2 separate regions of the Homo sapiens genome follow, and region 1 is linked to region 2. Evidence: promoter capture Hi-C in 16 types of primary human blood cells and fetal thymus (Javierre and others, 2016). All regions are on one chromosome and are shown on one strand. Each heading gives the region's core, a stretch centred on a gene start or on the middle of the fragment in contact. The rest is flanking DNA. Distances are from core to core; before and after follow the strand shown. Region 1 holds the start of RTRAF (RNA transcription, translation and transport factor). Region 2 holds the start of STYX (serine/threonine/tyrosine interacting protein).

Evidence for each region. The method cuts DNA at HindIII sites, captures the fragments that hold promoters and counts their contacts. A CHiCAGO score of 5 or more calls a contact.
Region 1: a fragment that was not itself captured here is called in contact with the fragment with the promoter of STYX in region 2 in 4 of 17 cell types (naive CD8 T cells, naive B cells, total B cells and 1 more); the score reaches 11.5 in naive CD8 T cells.

The regions. Positions count from the first base shown.
Region 1 is chr14:51,988,363-51,995,754 of GRCh38, forward strand. It overlaps RTRAF (RNA transcription, translation and transport factor), which reads left to right and starts at 1,184. Exons shown (of 8, transcript NM_016039.3): 1 at 1,184-1,338; 2 at 2,955-3,079; 3 at 5,361-5,460. The coding sequence starts at 1,278. LOC105370497 (a long non-coding RNA gene) reads right to left here and starts at 2,222. Exons shown (of 3, transcript XR_007064166.1): 1 at 2,157-2,222; 2 at 1-327. RefSeq lists enhancers at 969-1,263, 1,604-1,663. The HindIII fragment of the contact is 835 bases long and covers 5,067-5,901 here.
Region 2 is chr14:52,725,070-52,731,944 of GRCh38, forward strand. It overlaps STYX (serine/threonine/tyrosine interacting protein), which reads left to right and starts at 5,097. Exons shown (of 11, transcript NM_145251.4): 1 at 5,097-5,462. The coding sequence starts at 5,406. PSMC6 (proteasome 26S subunit, ATPase 6) reads left to right here. Exons shown (of 14, transcript NM_002806.5): 14 at 2,430-3,521. The coding sequence ends at 2,548. RefSeq lists silencers at 4,782-5,241, 5,312-5,391. The HindIII fragment of the contact is 7,384 bases long and covers 2,773-6,875 here.

The sequences.
Region 1 (7,392 bases), core at 4,234-6,733, 740 kb before region 2:
AAGAATTTCAATAGCTCCCCTTAGCTTGCCATGAGAGGCTTTTCCTTATCAGAGCCCTGCCTTTGTCTATAGTCTTATCAGCTGTCATTCCCTCTCACCCTCCAGCCCCTATAAGCTCTAGTCCCTCTGGGCCATGCTGTTGCTCATTTCTTGCCTTTATACATCCTCTTCCCTCAAACTAGGTTACCCTTTTGACTGCATGGTGAATGCCTCACCATCTTCAAGCCTTAGTTTATACTTATCTGTTTATTGTTTCCCTCATTAGCCTTTTAAACTCCATGAAAATAGGGGCCTGGTCTGTCTTGTTCACTGCTCTCTCTCCACTGTCTGAAAAGCAAGTAGAGACTGGATCAGGAAAGATCTTAAATACAATAAGGAGTTTTGATTATTTCTAGGGGGTAACCAGGAACCACTAAAACATAAGCAGAGAAAGTTATGTACAGGTTTTTGCTTTAGAAAAATCTCTCTCATCGCTGTATGGAGGAATGGTTTGGAGAACGCAGGACTGGCCCTAAGAAATCAATCAGATAATTAGAGTAAGCAAAAGTGATGAGGATCTGATCTGTGGCTGTATCAGTGGGGTCCGAAAGGAGGTGAGGGATTTGAGAGTTAGGAGAGACAGAATGGCAGGAATTGGTGACCTACTGGATGCTGTGACCGAGGGTGAGGGGGAGTGAGGGACGATCTCGGCTTCAGATTTCACTCTGGCTGAGGATATCTGGAACGATCGCATCGTATTAACAATTGTATGTTTACCTGTGGATCACTCCCAATTAGTCTGAAAGCATCTTACTATAGGGACCTTGCTTTGTAGTCTTTGTATTACCAGTGTTAGAAGAGCACCTGTTATGTAGGAGGAGTAATAAAATGAATGAATGCACTCAAAACACTAAACAGTAATTCTGTAATCCAACGGGAGGTACAGCGAATACCAAAAGCCTACATATACTATTCTCTGCATGCTATAGCAAGAAAGAAAGGAAAGTGGCTTCCCGGTGGTTTTCTGCCTATTGTACAACCAGGAAGCTGACAATAAAGTTTATTTGAGCGTCGACGTGCGCCGACGTGGCCCCGCCTCCCCAGCCGGAGCCGCGATTGGTGGGCATTTGCCGGCGGCCACCGCTTTTAAGCCACGATTGGCGAAGGCCGCCGTCATTTCGGAGCGACTCAGCGCCTGCCCGCCCTCTCGCCGCGTCGCCGGTGCCTGCGCCTCCCGCTCCACCTCGCTTCTTCTCTCCCGGCCGAGGCCCGGGGGACCAGAGCGAGAAGCGGGGACCATGTTCCGACGCAAGTTGACGGCTCTCGACTACCACAACCCCGCCGGCTTCAACTGCAAAGGTGAGGCGGCGGCCTCAGCCCGGCCGCGTGTCCCTGACCTGGGCGGAGGTCCCAGCCTCAGTGCCCGCACCCCACCTCCCCGTCGGGACCCTCGGCGGCCTGGTTTCCGCCGGCAGCCTCCGGGCCCCTCTCCTCTGGGTCGCCACGTACCTCGGCTCTTCGCCGCCCCTTCCCGCCTTTAAAGCCCTCTCACCTACTCCTGTCTCGGCATGTTACTTTCTGCACTTGCTTAACTCCAAGCATCACGTAACTACCTTCTCTGTACATAAAAGGGAGAGCATTCGTCTTTCTCACTCACTATTCAACTCCATGGTTCCCTGGGTAATTAGGCGATACCTTGAGCACCTGCTAATTATGGGCCAGCGCGGTGCTGGATTCTGAGGAAGGTGCTGAGTAACTTGAAGACTAGTTCACTGCCTGCCAGGAGCTAAAGGGACGAGGGGTGGAAGCAATCAGAACCCACTGAGCAGTTTGAGACAGTACACAATGAAATCAGGACCGATCACAGTGGGAGGGTAAGCGCGTGTAGTAACGGGCTAGTTGTGTTATGTGGTGTTGCAAAAAAGTTAATAGCAGATGAGTGGGAAGGTTGAATTGTGAATACAAAGGTATTTGGGATTTTACAGCATTAGAATTTTAAAAAGTAATAACGTTGCTACTCACTGTAACTAAACTGCTACCCACCACTACTCGTTTCCTTTGTATAGTTGTGGCCTGTGATAGACTGGTAAGTTTGAAAGTGATCAAGTATAACTTGTGATACTCAGACCACTGTGTAATTCTCAAGACCTTATAATGGAAGCTTGAATTTGACTCACAAATTGAAAATAATTTCTAAGCAGGATGACAGTGTTTTGTTGATCGCCTGTAGAAGCATATCAAATTATAATCTATTGTTTTTCTACTTTAACAAAAAAGTATCAGTGACAATAGAGCCTTGTTCTGGATTGGAATCTTTGAGTCTCAATGTTCTTATCTGTAAAATGGGATATTACCTACCTCAAAAGAGGTATGGGGAGGATTAAACGAAACAATTATGCACTTAATGTGCAGTTAACATTCCATGACAACAGTTGTCACAGTGTCTTTTTTGTCATTTAATTTCTTTTACTTATTATTTTGTTGTATATTTTACTTTATTACTTTGCTATAAATTTAACCTTGCCCTCCTTCCCCTTTCTGTCCGCAAAGGAACTGGAATATTAATATGTAACACTTAAATAGCAAAACTATGTGCCAGGCACTGTTTTTATCCGTATTTATTTTATTTAAGAAACTTCTTAAATAAAACAACTTCTTTTAATCTTCATAACTCTATGAGGTAAGTTCTATTAGCACCCTCATTTTGTAGCTGAAGAGTCTGAGGCACAGAAAATGTGGGTGATTATCCCAAGTTCACACAACCAGTAAGTATCTGGACCCAGGATTTGAACAGATCATTGTTAATCTGTACTTTCAACTCCAGAATCTGTACTTTCAACTCCCTCTTTTGGTTCAATTAATTTAGTATTTTGAAGTTAAGAAAATTCCACAAGAACATATATCTGAACATATACCTGAGAAGGAGGTATTTTATGTAGTGCTTCTAGTTATTTATGTGATATTTTTTATTGCAGATGAAACAGAATTTAGAAACTTCATCGTTTGGCTTGAAGACCAGAAAATCAGGCACTACAAGATTGAAGACAGAGGGAATTTAAGAAACATCCACAGCAGCGACTGGCCCAAGTTCTTTGAAAAGGTAATGAATTAGGAAGTAAAGTAAAAATACAGAGAGTTTGTCTGAAAAATCATGAAGATGAGCTTAAAATTACTTTCTTCTTTTAAGAAAAAAATGATAATGATCAGTGTTAGGAAAGCTGGATTTCAGGGATTTTGCTTTTTTCTTAGATGTGTCTTTTGCTTTTAGAGCAAATTATTTTATGTCTTCCTACCAAGCTTTCAGTATTAGGTAGAAATAGTTTTCTCTAGAAACATGAAGTTTCTTAAATAAATAATGATGTAAATATTTCGCTTTCCCTTTATGGCCCAAATCAGAATTTTTGTTAAACACAGTACTATTTCTTATATTAAAAGAAGACATTGGCTAGGTGTGATGGCTAACACCTATAATGCCAGCACTTTGGGAGGCTGAGGTGGCAGATCATTTGAGCTCAGGAGTTCTGACAGCAGCCTGGGCAACATGATGAAACCCTGTCTCTACAAGAAAATAGAAAGTTATCTGGGTGTGCTGGCCTGTGTCTGTAGTGTCAGCTAATTGGGAGGCTGAGGTTCTCCAGCCTGGGCGACAGAGTGACACCTTGTCTCAAAAAAAGACATTATTGAGATGCTTGAAAACCAAGACTGTCGTGTTTATGCTTATATTTAATGTAAACAGATATCCCTTGTTGTATGCTAGGGAAATAGTCCTTAAATGATCTCTGGTATATCATATTTTTGTGCCTTGAATCATTTTCCCATTGATTTAGTTTTAGTAACACTTTTGCATAAAAAAGAATTCTCAGATTAGAATAAAAATGCTTTTAGTGTCATTTCTTACATTAAACATTTTCATCAGTTATATTTGATGAGTGAGATATTTTTCTTGAAAAAGGCTAAGTTTTTCATTTGCGAGAGCAGTGTGATTAGGCACTTTCTCCCTAGAATCAGTGATTTTATAAATTAGGGATTGTATAAATTACATCATTGTTATTAACCTTTCCGTGTCTCAATTTTTTCATCAATAAGTGAGGGTAACAATGATACCTATCTCATAAGTGTGGCTTTGTTTTTAATGAGTAATTGTTCACAGAAGTCCCTGGCGCATAGCAAGTGTGATAAGCTTATTACTGCCAATGCCTCTATACTACTACTATTAATACTACTGTATTCTTTTCCTTTGCTCTTAGAAAATATTTTTAAAATTTTCAGTGGACTTCTTAAAACTTTGAAATATATTTTTAGGATTTTATGTTTGTTTATATTACATTTTATGGTCTATTCATGTGTACAAGACAGTACAGAATTCTGCATGTAGAAAGGTATCTGGAGAATATAAAAAATTGTCTAGGCTGGGCACGGTGGCTCATGCCTATAATCCAAGCAGTTTGGGAAGCCAAGATGGGTGGATCACCTGAGGTCAGGGGTTCGAGACCAGCCGGGCCAACGTGGCGAAACCCCGTCTCTACTAAAAACACAAAATTAGCCAGGTGTGGTGGCGCATGTGTGTAATCTCAGCTGCCCAGGGGGCTGAGCCAGGAGAATCATTTGAACTCAGGAGGCGGAGGTTGCAGTGAGCCAAGATTGTGCCATTGCACTCCAGCCTGGGCAACAGAACAAGACTCTGTCTCAAAAAAAAGAAATATGTATGTATGTGTGTGTATATATGTACATATACACACACGTATTTCTGATGTGAAACACCTGGAATGACAGTAAGAATAATTTCAACATATCAGAACCTAAACAGTTATTATCCTTCAAGTTGATTTTATTATAATCTTATATTACATATAATTAATGTTACATATAATACTATTATATGCAACATTTATTTGAATATACAGCTTCTGACATTTATTTAAATTACTTGGTTACACCCTACATGTATGTTACATGGCTACTCTTTTCAGTGGCATTTCCATAATATGAAAGTTAAGGTTTAGATAGATAATGATTTATTGTATATCCTTTTTAAAGTTATTCTTTTTAGTTAATTGCTCTATGTGTATTGAGACTAGGAATCAGAAAGCTTAGATTCTAGTCCCAGGTGTAAGTTGTGTAACCCTTGGCAAGTGTCAATCTCTAGGCCTCAGCTTTCTCATCTATAAAATGAGGAAGTTGTCGTATTCTATTTTTTTTCTTAAGATGATACACTTAAATGTTCCCTTCTGTTGGGTTATATAATTGCATCAAAAGTGTAGTAATGTTATTAAAAAATTGTTAGAGATCCAAACTAAGGTCTCTTTCAACTCTCCCATTCTTTTTTCTGTGACTTTATGGTAATAATGAAACTGGTGGTTTTCTTTTCTTCCCCCTCACAGTATCTCAGAGATGTTAACTGTCCTTTCAAGATTCAAGATCGACAAGAAGCTATTGACTGGCTTCTTGGTTTAGCTGTTAGACTTGAATATGGAGATAATGGTACGTTTTGTGGGGAATGTGTATTTTAAAGAGAGAGGAAAGATGGGAAAGGGAGTGTGAAAATGTAGGGAACTTTGCAGTTTGTTTTGTCTAGTACTATTTTACCTTTGGTTTATTCTTATCACAAGTTAAAAGCACTTTTATTGTCTTTCATTGGTGTTTATATATTTCTGTTAGAATTTGGAAATGGTGCCCTCTGGAGAAGGCTAATTGACTGTCTTCTCACAGAGTAACACTACTTTGATAATATGGTCTGCACCTTAGCCTTTCAAATTAAATTGTTTTTAGTGTCCCAGAATTGATGGGACTTTGAAGTGTTGTTGCAGTAGGTAATTTCTCAAAAGACTGAAACATGTCTAATGCCAATATACATTAATACTCTATAGGCCAGAATATATTACTTATGTTTACTGTCTTAGCACAGATACTTCTATGGTTGGAAGCTTCTGAATGTTAGTACCTATAGTAAAAACAATTTTTCTTTAAACGGGTGTTTTCTCTTATTAGACCATTTCATTTTGAAAGGCCTGCCAACATCTAAATGCAAGATTTGATTATCTTATCTGCATCCCCTGCATTTTGTGTTTTTCGGTTAGTTACAGTCTTCTTAATTATTTACTTTGGAAGCCTTTTTATATCTTGGCTTATCCCTTTCCCTTCATCCCACCTACACTGACTTTTTCTCATGTTTGTTGTATCTTCATTCCCATTGGCATAATCCTAATTCAGGCTCTTGTCACTTTCTGCCAGGAGTATTATAATATCTCCCATTAGTGTCACCTTCTGTTCTTAACTGCATGGCCAACCAAGCTAACTTTCTGAAACGTTAATCTATTTTAGGATGCCACTTACTCCTTGTTTCCAAAGAACAGTTCCAGTTACATATTCATATTAATAAACATACATATCCATAAACACTAATTTCCCATTTTCTATAAAAAGAATTTTAAGCTCCTTAGCATGGTAGTTAATGATGACTGATATCCAACCTGTATTCACATCTTGACATCCCAGCTAAATTAGAATAATAGTGCTTCCTGTTTATATCCCATTTCCCCCTCTGTTTCTTTGTTCACACTTTTCCCTTGGCTAATATACCATTTCATTCTATCTACACATCTAAATCCTACCCATCTTTTTAAGATCCATCTCATATGCTGTCTTATGTCTTAGCAGCAGTATAATTTCCCTCTGAACTTCCATAGCTTTTAACCCTATACATTTTAAGTCATTAACCACTTTCCATTTTGCTTCTATGTCTTATTCGTCCCAGTAATTTGTAAACTGATACTCAGCTTTGATTCCTACATGGTACCTCTCTTAGCTTCCAATTGATGCTGTAACAAATTACTACAAACTCAGTGACTGAAAACACAATTTATTATTTTAGAATGAGAAGGCCAACATTAGCCTCACTGGGTTCATGTCAAGTTGTCAGCAAGGCAGGTTCCTTTTGGAGGCTCTCGGGGGAATCTGTTTCTTTCCTTTTTTAACTTCTAGAGGCTGCCTGAATTCCTTGACTCTGGCCCCTTCTTCCTTCTTCAAGTCTAGCAGCATAGCATTTTCCAGTCTCTTATCTGATTCTGCTTCCATTGTCATAACTTTGTCTCTGGCTCTGATCCTCCTGAGCCCACCTGGATAATCCAGGATAATCCCCTATCTCAAGATCCTTAATTTTATCATATTTGCAAATCTTGCCATGTAAGGTAACACATACACAGGTTCCAGGGATCAGGACATGGACATCTTGGGGGGTACAGGTCAATATTGTGTCTGTCACAGTACCTGACATAGTTTCTTGCACACAACAGGTGCTTATCAATTTCAGTAATGTGTGGCGAATGCAGTATATGTGAGTGTTTACATACACTGATTTGGAGCATCAGCCAATTTTTTGCTGATGCCTCAGACTTAAATTTCAGAAGCCTTATG
Region 2 (6,875 bases), core at 3,847-6,346:
ATGCTCACAGAGCGTTATCAATAAACTAAACTATTTAGAGGTAAACTGTCATATAGCTTGAACAAGTTAGAGTAATTTATGACATTCTCTTTCCAAAATGTAAACCAGACCAAATTATTATCAGAAGATTGCTTTGGTTAGATTGTAATCCAAATGCAAGCTGTGCAGTGAACCTAAAGGCTGTTGCTATCAAAATATACGCTTTTTTTCCTTACATATTCTTACAAATTTACCTTTAGTTATTGCAAATGAGCTATAACTTCTGTGTGGATTAAAATTGTAGTTCTTTTTTAACTAGGTGGGACATTCACATCTGGAAACATACTGAAATTTTTATCTTCTTTTTAGACTTGAAGGCTTTTTTGTTAACATTTTTCGTAAGTTAAAATACACTTGATTCAACTACAGTTGCCCTTCCTGTTCAGGTCCTGACATTATCTCTTTTGGATTATAATACATCTCTATTTTATTTTTTCTTTTGAGACGGAGTCTCACTCTGGCCCAGGCTGGAGTGCAGTGGCATGATCACTGCTCCCTGTAGCCCAGACCTGATCATTTCTCCTTTATCTTCCAGTAGCTGGGACTATAGGCGTGCGCCACCACACCCAGCTAATTTTTGTATTTTTTGTAGAGACGGGTTTCACCATGTTGTCCAGGCTGGTCTCAAATTCCTGGGCCCAAGTAATCCACCCACCTGGGCCTCCCAAAATGCTGGGATTACAGGCACAAGCTACCAGGCCTGGCCAGGCATCTCTTGTGCAGATTTACTTATTCACTAAAGTGATTTGGAAAATAGCCATGTGTGCAAGGTTTACAAAAATAACTTACCTAGTTTCACTGTAGCTTTCTAAACAAGTTTTGAAACTTTGTTATTTTTTAAAAATCAGTCATTTCCATTCACCCGGTTTCTAGGACAACATAGATTGTTTCCTTATGTAGAAATCTAGAAAGGAAGTAATCCTTGAAATCTTCTATATTAACTCCCTCATTTTATGTAAGTGAAAATTCAATACAGGCAGATCCTCAGTGGAAATTTTAGAATTCATTTAATTAGTAGATAGCAATAAACTTACCTGCTTTAGTTTATCATGAGTTAGGATTATCTCAAAATCTGGGACCCATATCCATAACACAACTAATGTTTAAAAAACTGCATACAAGGAAACTTTTACCCCTTTGTCAAATACTGTTTGAGAAGGTACTTGTCAAAAAGTTGAAGGAAAAAATTGAGTTGTGATACTCAAATATGAATCAAATAAAAATACCAATTTGTACATAAATTAGGTAAATTTTAACACATGAATAATGACTCCGAGTTTTGCTAAAACCCGCTGTTGGCTTTCTATATGATTCCCTATTCTCAACGTTTTTGATTATTAACAAAGAATGGCTATCAAACTTACTCAAGATTTTTTTTCCCCCATAAATGTGTGCCTTCCAGCAAATTGCTTCCTGTCAAGTTAAGTTACGCTTAAAATGTGTATGTGTTGGTAGTTTTGATTGCTTCGGTTTTTTATGCTTGTTTTTATTAAGAGCTACAATCAGATACAGGGACCATTTAAGCCTGATTTTATTTTATTTTATTTTTTTGAGACAGAGCCTCACTCTGTCACCCAGACTGGAGTGCAGTGGTGCGATCTTGGCTCACTGCAACCTCTGCCTCCCGGGTTCAAGCGATTCTCCTGCCTCAGCCTCCCAAGTAGCTGGGGTTACAGATGCCCACTACTACGCCCAGCTAATTTTTGTGTTTTTAGTAGAAACGGGGTTTTACCATGTTGGCTAGGCTGGTCTCGAACTCCCGACCCCAGGTAATCCGTCCACCTTGGCCTCCCAAAGTGTTGGGATTACAGGTGTGAGCCACCGTGCCCAGCCTTGAACCGGATGTTAAATATTCATATAATGGTCATACCTGTTTTTGTTTTAGAACATAATCACAACACCGCTATGGATTTTTTTTTTTTTTTTTTTTTGAGATGGGGTCTCGCTCTGTTGCCAGGCTGGAGTGCAGTGCCACTATCTCAGCTCACTGCAACCTCCGCCTCCTGGGTTCAAGCCATTCTCCTGCCTTAGCCTCCCGAGTAGCTGGGACTACAGGCGCGCGCCACCATGCCCAGCTAATTTTTTTTTTTTTTTGTATTTTTAGTAGAGATGGGGTTTCACCGTGTTGGCCAGGATGGTCTTAATCTCTTGACATTGCAATCTGCCCATCTTGGCCTCCCAAAGTGTTGGGATTACAGGCGTGAGCCACCGCACCCGGCCTGTGGATTTTAATTGAAAAAAGATAGTGGTTTTTAGCAAATTACAACTACTGGCTCAGAAGTAATAAATCTAAGCTTCACATTTATTCCATAGAATTATATTGTTTTTCTTATAATGAACATATAATTCATATGTGATATATAGCAGTCATGTTGTTTTATTCTCTACAGGTATGTTCGCAATTCGTGCTGATCATGATTTTGTAGTACAGGAAGACTTCATGAAAGCAGTCAGAAAAGTGGCTGATTCTAAGAAGCTGGAGTCTAAATTGGACTACAAACCTGTGTAATTTACTGTAAGATTTTTGATGGCTGCATGACAGATGTTGGCTTATTGTAAAAATAAAGTTAAAGAAAATAATGTATGTATTGGTAATGATGTCATTAAAAGTATATGAATAAAAATATGAGTAACATCATAAAAATTAGTAATTCAACTTTTAAGATACAGAAGAAATTTGTATGTTTGTTAAAGTTGCATTTATTGCAGCAAGTTACAAAGGGAAAGTGTTGAAGCTTTTCATATTTGCTGCGTGAGCATTTTGTAAAATATTGAAAGTGGTTTGAGATAGTGGTATAAGAAAGCATTTCTTATGACTTATTTTGTATCATTTGTTTTCCTCATCTAAAAAGTTGAATAAAATCTGTTTGATTCAGTTCTCCTACATATATATTCTTGTCTTTTCTGAGTATATTTACTGTGGTCCTTTAGGTTCTTTAGCAAGTAAACTATTTGATAACCCAGATGGATTGTGGATTTTTGAATATTATTTTAAAATAGTACACATACTTAATGTTCATAAGATCATCTTCTTAAATAAAACATGGATGTGTGGGTATGTCTGTACTCCTCCTTTCAGAAAGTGTTTACATATTCTTCATCTACTGTGATTAAGCTCATTGTTGGTTAATTGAAAATATACATGCACATCCATAACTTTTTAAAGAGTATGATTCAACGTAATATTTGCTAATATGTGACTGGGTTTTCTTGGTTTATGTAAGACGATAGGTCCCTGTTGAGGATGTGGAGGTCTGGACCCTCTTCCAGGAAAAATTCTAACATACAATTTTGCGTATACTATAATTTCAGGAAATTTATTGTTTCCCAAGCTCATCCAAGGACTCTTTAGGTATGTATGGATACCTGGCTAAGAGTGTATGATGTAGGGGATGTAGGAGTGTCAGAAATGTTCAAAACATGATTTCTGTTACCTATACATGATTCTTATATCATCTGGCAATAAAAGCTATAACAAAGTACACAAAGGAATCATCATTGGGCATCAATAATTATTAAAGATGCTGGTGAAAAGAAAAGACAACTTCAGTTTCATAAACACTAAAGAACCAAAAATACATGACCTAGCTAATTATACAATAATTCTTCAAATTAAAAACTTCCTAGCAGGATATTATGTGCCTTTTTATAATTTTAGAAGATGAACAGTTAAAATAGAAAATGGAGTGGTCAAGTTAGCCATCTCATACTCAAATTATTGTACAGTTCTATTTCTATGTGTTGGCAGTGCATTTTATGTGACAAAAAGTAGAATGTAGGGGGAGGTTTAAGTCAAATATCTATGTGATCTTTTCACTTATAATTTGCATTTAGTTAAGGAGTGACTATCTTGCCTTTTACCTTTGTGCTGGCGGTGGTTTTTTAAAGAATCAATTTGGTGTACAAATCCTTTCTTTCTTTTTTTATTTTTGATTTTTTTTGAGATGGAGTTTCGCTCTTGTTGCCCAGGCTGTAGTGCCATTGCACTATCTCAGCTCATTGCAACCTCCGCCTCCCGGATTTAAGCGGTTCTCCTGCCTCAGCCTTCTAAGTAGCTGCGATTACTGGCATGCGCCACCACACCCAGCTAATTTTTGTATTTTTAGTAGAGACGGGGTTTCTCCATGTTGGTCAGGCTGGTCTCAAACTCCCGACCTCAGGTGATCCACACGCCTCAGCCGCCCAAAGTGCTGGGATTACAGGCGTGAGCCTCCGCGCCCGGCCCAAATCTTTTCACCATGGGTTTACAGGCATAACGCCACCACACCCAGGGAATTTTAAAATTGTTTTTTAGAGAGGGGGGTCTTACTATTTTGCTCAGGCTGGCAAACTCCTTTTAAAAGATATTGAAAGCCATCTGGTTTATTATTTTTATTTCAAAATATAATAATGGAAGAAATTTTACAGTATTATATACAATTTACTGAGTCAGCTATCAGTTCCTTTTTCTGATTTTTTTCTAGTTGCCATTCTTGATATTTTCTAGGTAATCTAAACTGAGTTGTATTTTCAAGTACTCTTAAAATACTTTAAAAAATTTTAAATTGAGCCGTTTAATTCTTTGCTTAAAGGTGATGGGTATTTTATTTTCTGTATGGCACCACGTGATTTTAAATTGAACTCTTCATTTATTAGTCATTTGGTTATAAACTCAGCATAGATTGCGCAGAATTTTGAGAGGGGAGAAACTATAGCTTTCCTTTCGGATGCCACTGGTGGGTAGCCTGTTTTGCCTGTTTGTTCTTATGTTAAAGAAGGGCTCTACGTCCTGTCTGGAAAGGGCGGAGCTGGCTCGGACCGCCCCACTGCCTTTCCCAGGACCTTCACTCGTCCTGTCCCACCGCAGCCCCGCCTCCTCCACGCCGGGTGAGCTGTGGCCTAGCAGCATCCGAGGCTCCGCCCCCCCCACCCCCAAGCGTCTGCGCTCTAGCGAAGGGGCGGAGCAGGGCGGTGGCGCGCTGACACCTGGCGGCGGCGGAGGGCGGGCAGAAGGCGAGCGTGGGCTGGGATTGGCTGAGGCGACGCGGGTGGAGGGGGCGGGAAGGAGGCGGGGAGACGGTTGTCGGGCTGGTTCCTGTGCTGGATCCTGGGCGGCCTGAGGGGTACGGAGACTCTGGGGGAGGGAGACGGCAGCGGCATGGCGGCCGGGTGTAAGACGCCCGACCCTCCTCTTCCCTGTCTTCGCCGCCGCCGCTGCTGGAGTCACTGGGACCCTGTAGTCTGCGTGTGTTAGTTGTAATCCCGCCGCCCTCCTGTCAGCCCTCCGCTCCGCCGGCCCTCCTTCCTTCCGCCGCCGCAGCCAGCCCGAGGGTCGGCCGGCTGTGTAACACTCTCCCACCCCACCCACCAGCCCGCGGGCCAGCACCATGGAGGACGTGAAGCTGGAGTTCCCTTCCCTTCCACAGTGCAAGGAAGACGCCGAGGTGAGTCGCTCCCGTGGCTGCCACGCACAGGCCTCTCCCTGTGGCTCCGGCCGAGGGGCGACCCCAGTCCCCAACCGTCTTAGCCGCCACCTGTACGGGCGCCCTGCCTCCTAAGGGCGTCCCGGGACCTCTGAAGCCGAGCGGTCGGCTCCAATCCCCACTGAGTTGCTCGTCCTCTCCAGACCCCGCGGAGGGGCAGCGTCTGGTGTACTTACATTTGAGAAGAGGAAAAGCAATCCCTTAGTCCCTAGGCTTGGCATCCAGGACTGACCTGGAGTAAGGTTCCTCTTTTATTGTCAAAGTAACAAGAGAGCGAAGTTGGTTTAGTCTCCTTTTGAGGAATATCTGTGGTGTAAACGATTCACTTGTGGGACACATGGCCCCACATGTGAAATAGACTCGGCGCCTGAAGTTTGGAAGCGCGCCTTCGAAAAGTTTCCCAAAGTTTTTTGTTTGTTTTTAGACAAAGCTATGACCCGCACAACAAAGTGTCTCAAAGCTAGCTCATCTTAATCTGAGAACTCTTAATCAGAAATCTTGACCTTTGGAGGAAAATTAATATTGAAAGTAAAATACTATATACCTTTTCTCCTGGTTTCTAATTTGTGGCTATTTTTACTCCACCTTAGATCCCTGCCTGCTGTTTCTACTCGGATTTTTTTTCATCTGTTGCTAGTTTAACATTTTACGGCATTGCAGACTACTAAATTAGAATTTTCTGGAGGCTAAATTAACAAGACGAAGATACTCAGCTATACTTTAGTAGGATTAAGAAAGAAAATCTAACATCGCTAGTTAAAAATACCTTTAAAGTAGTTGGGAAAAATAAAGCCCTATTTTTAGGAGACCATTCAATTTATTCCGAATATTTATTCTATTGAATATCTTCATTGGAGGTTCACTTTTTTTTTTTTTTTTTTTTTGAGACGGAGTCTTGCTCTGTCGCCAGGCTGGAGTGCAATGTGGCGCGATCTCGGCTCACTGCAACCTCCGCCTTCCGGGTTCAAGCGATTCTCCTGCCTCAGCCTCCTGAGTAGCTGGAACTACAGGCGCGCACCACCACGCCCAGCTAATTTTTGTGTTTTTAGGGGAGACGGGTTTCACCATTTTGGCCAGGGTGGTCTCGATCTCCTGACCTTGTGATCCGCCCGACTCGGCCTCCCAAAGTGCTGAAATTGCAGGTATGAGCCACCGCGCCCGGCCTAGGTTCACATTTTTGTTTGGAGGGCTCTCTTGTGGTATTGATGCTTGACAATTACATTTGTTTTAAGAGTAGAGACTTTGTTTGTGACTATCACTGTTGCAAAATGTAGTGCAGTGGTGTGATCTCGGTTCACTGCAGTCTCGAACTCCCATGCTCAAGCCATCCTTTCACCTCAGCCTCTGGAGTAGCTGGGACCATGCCGGGCTAAT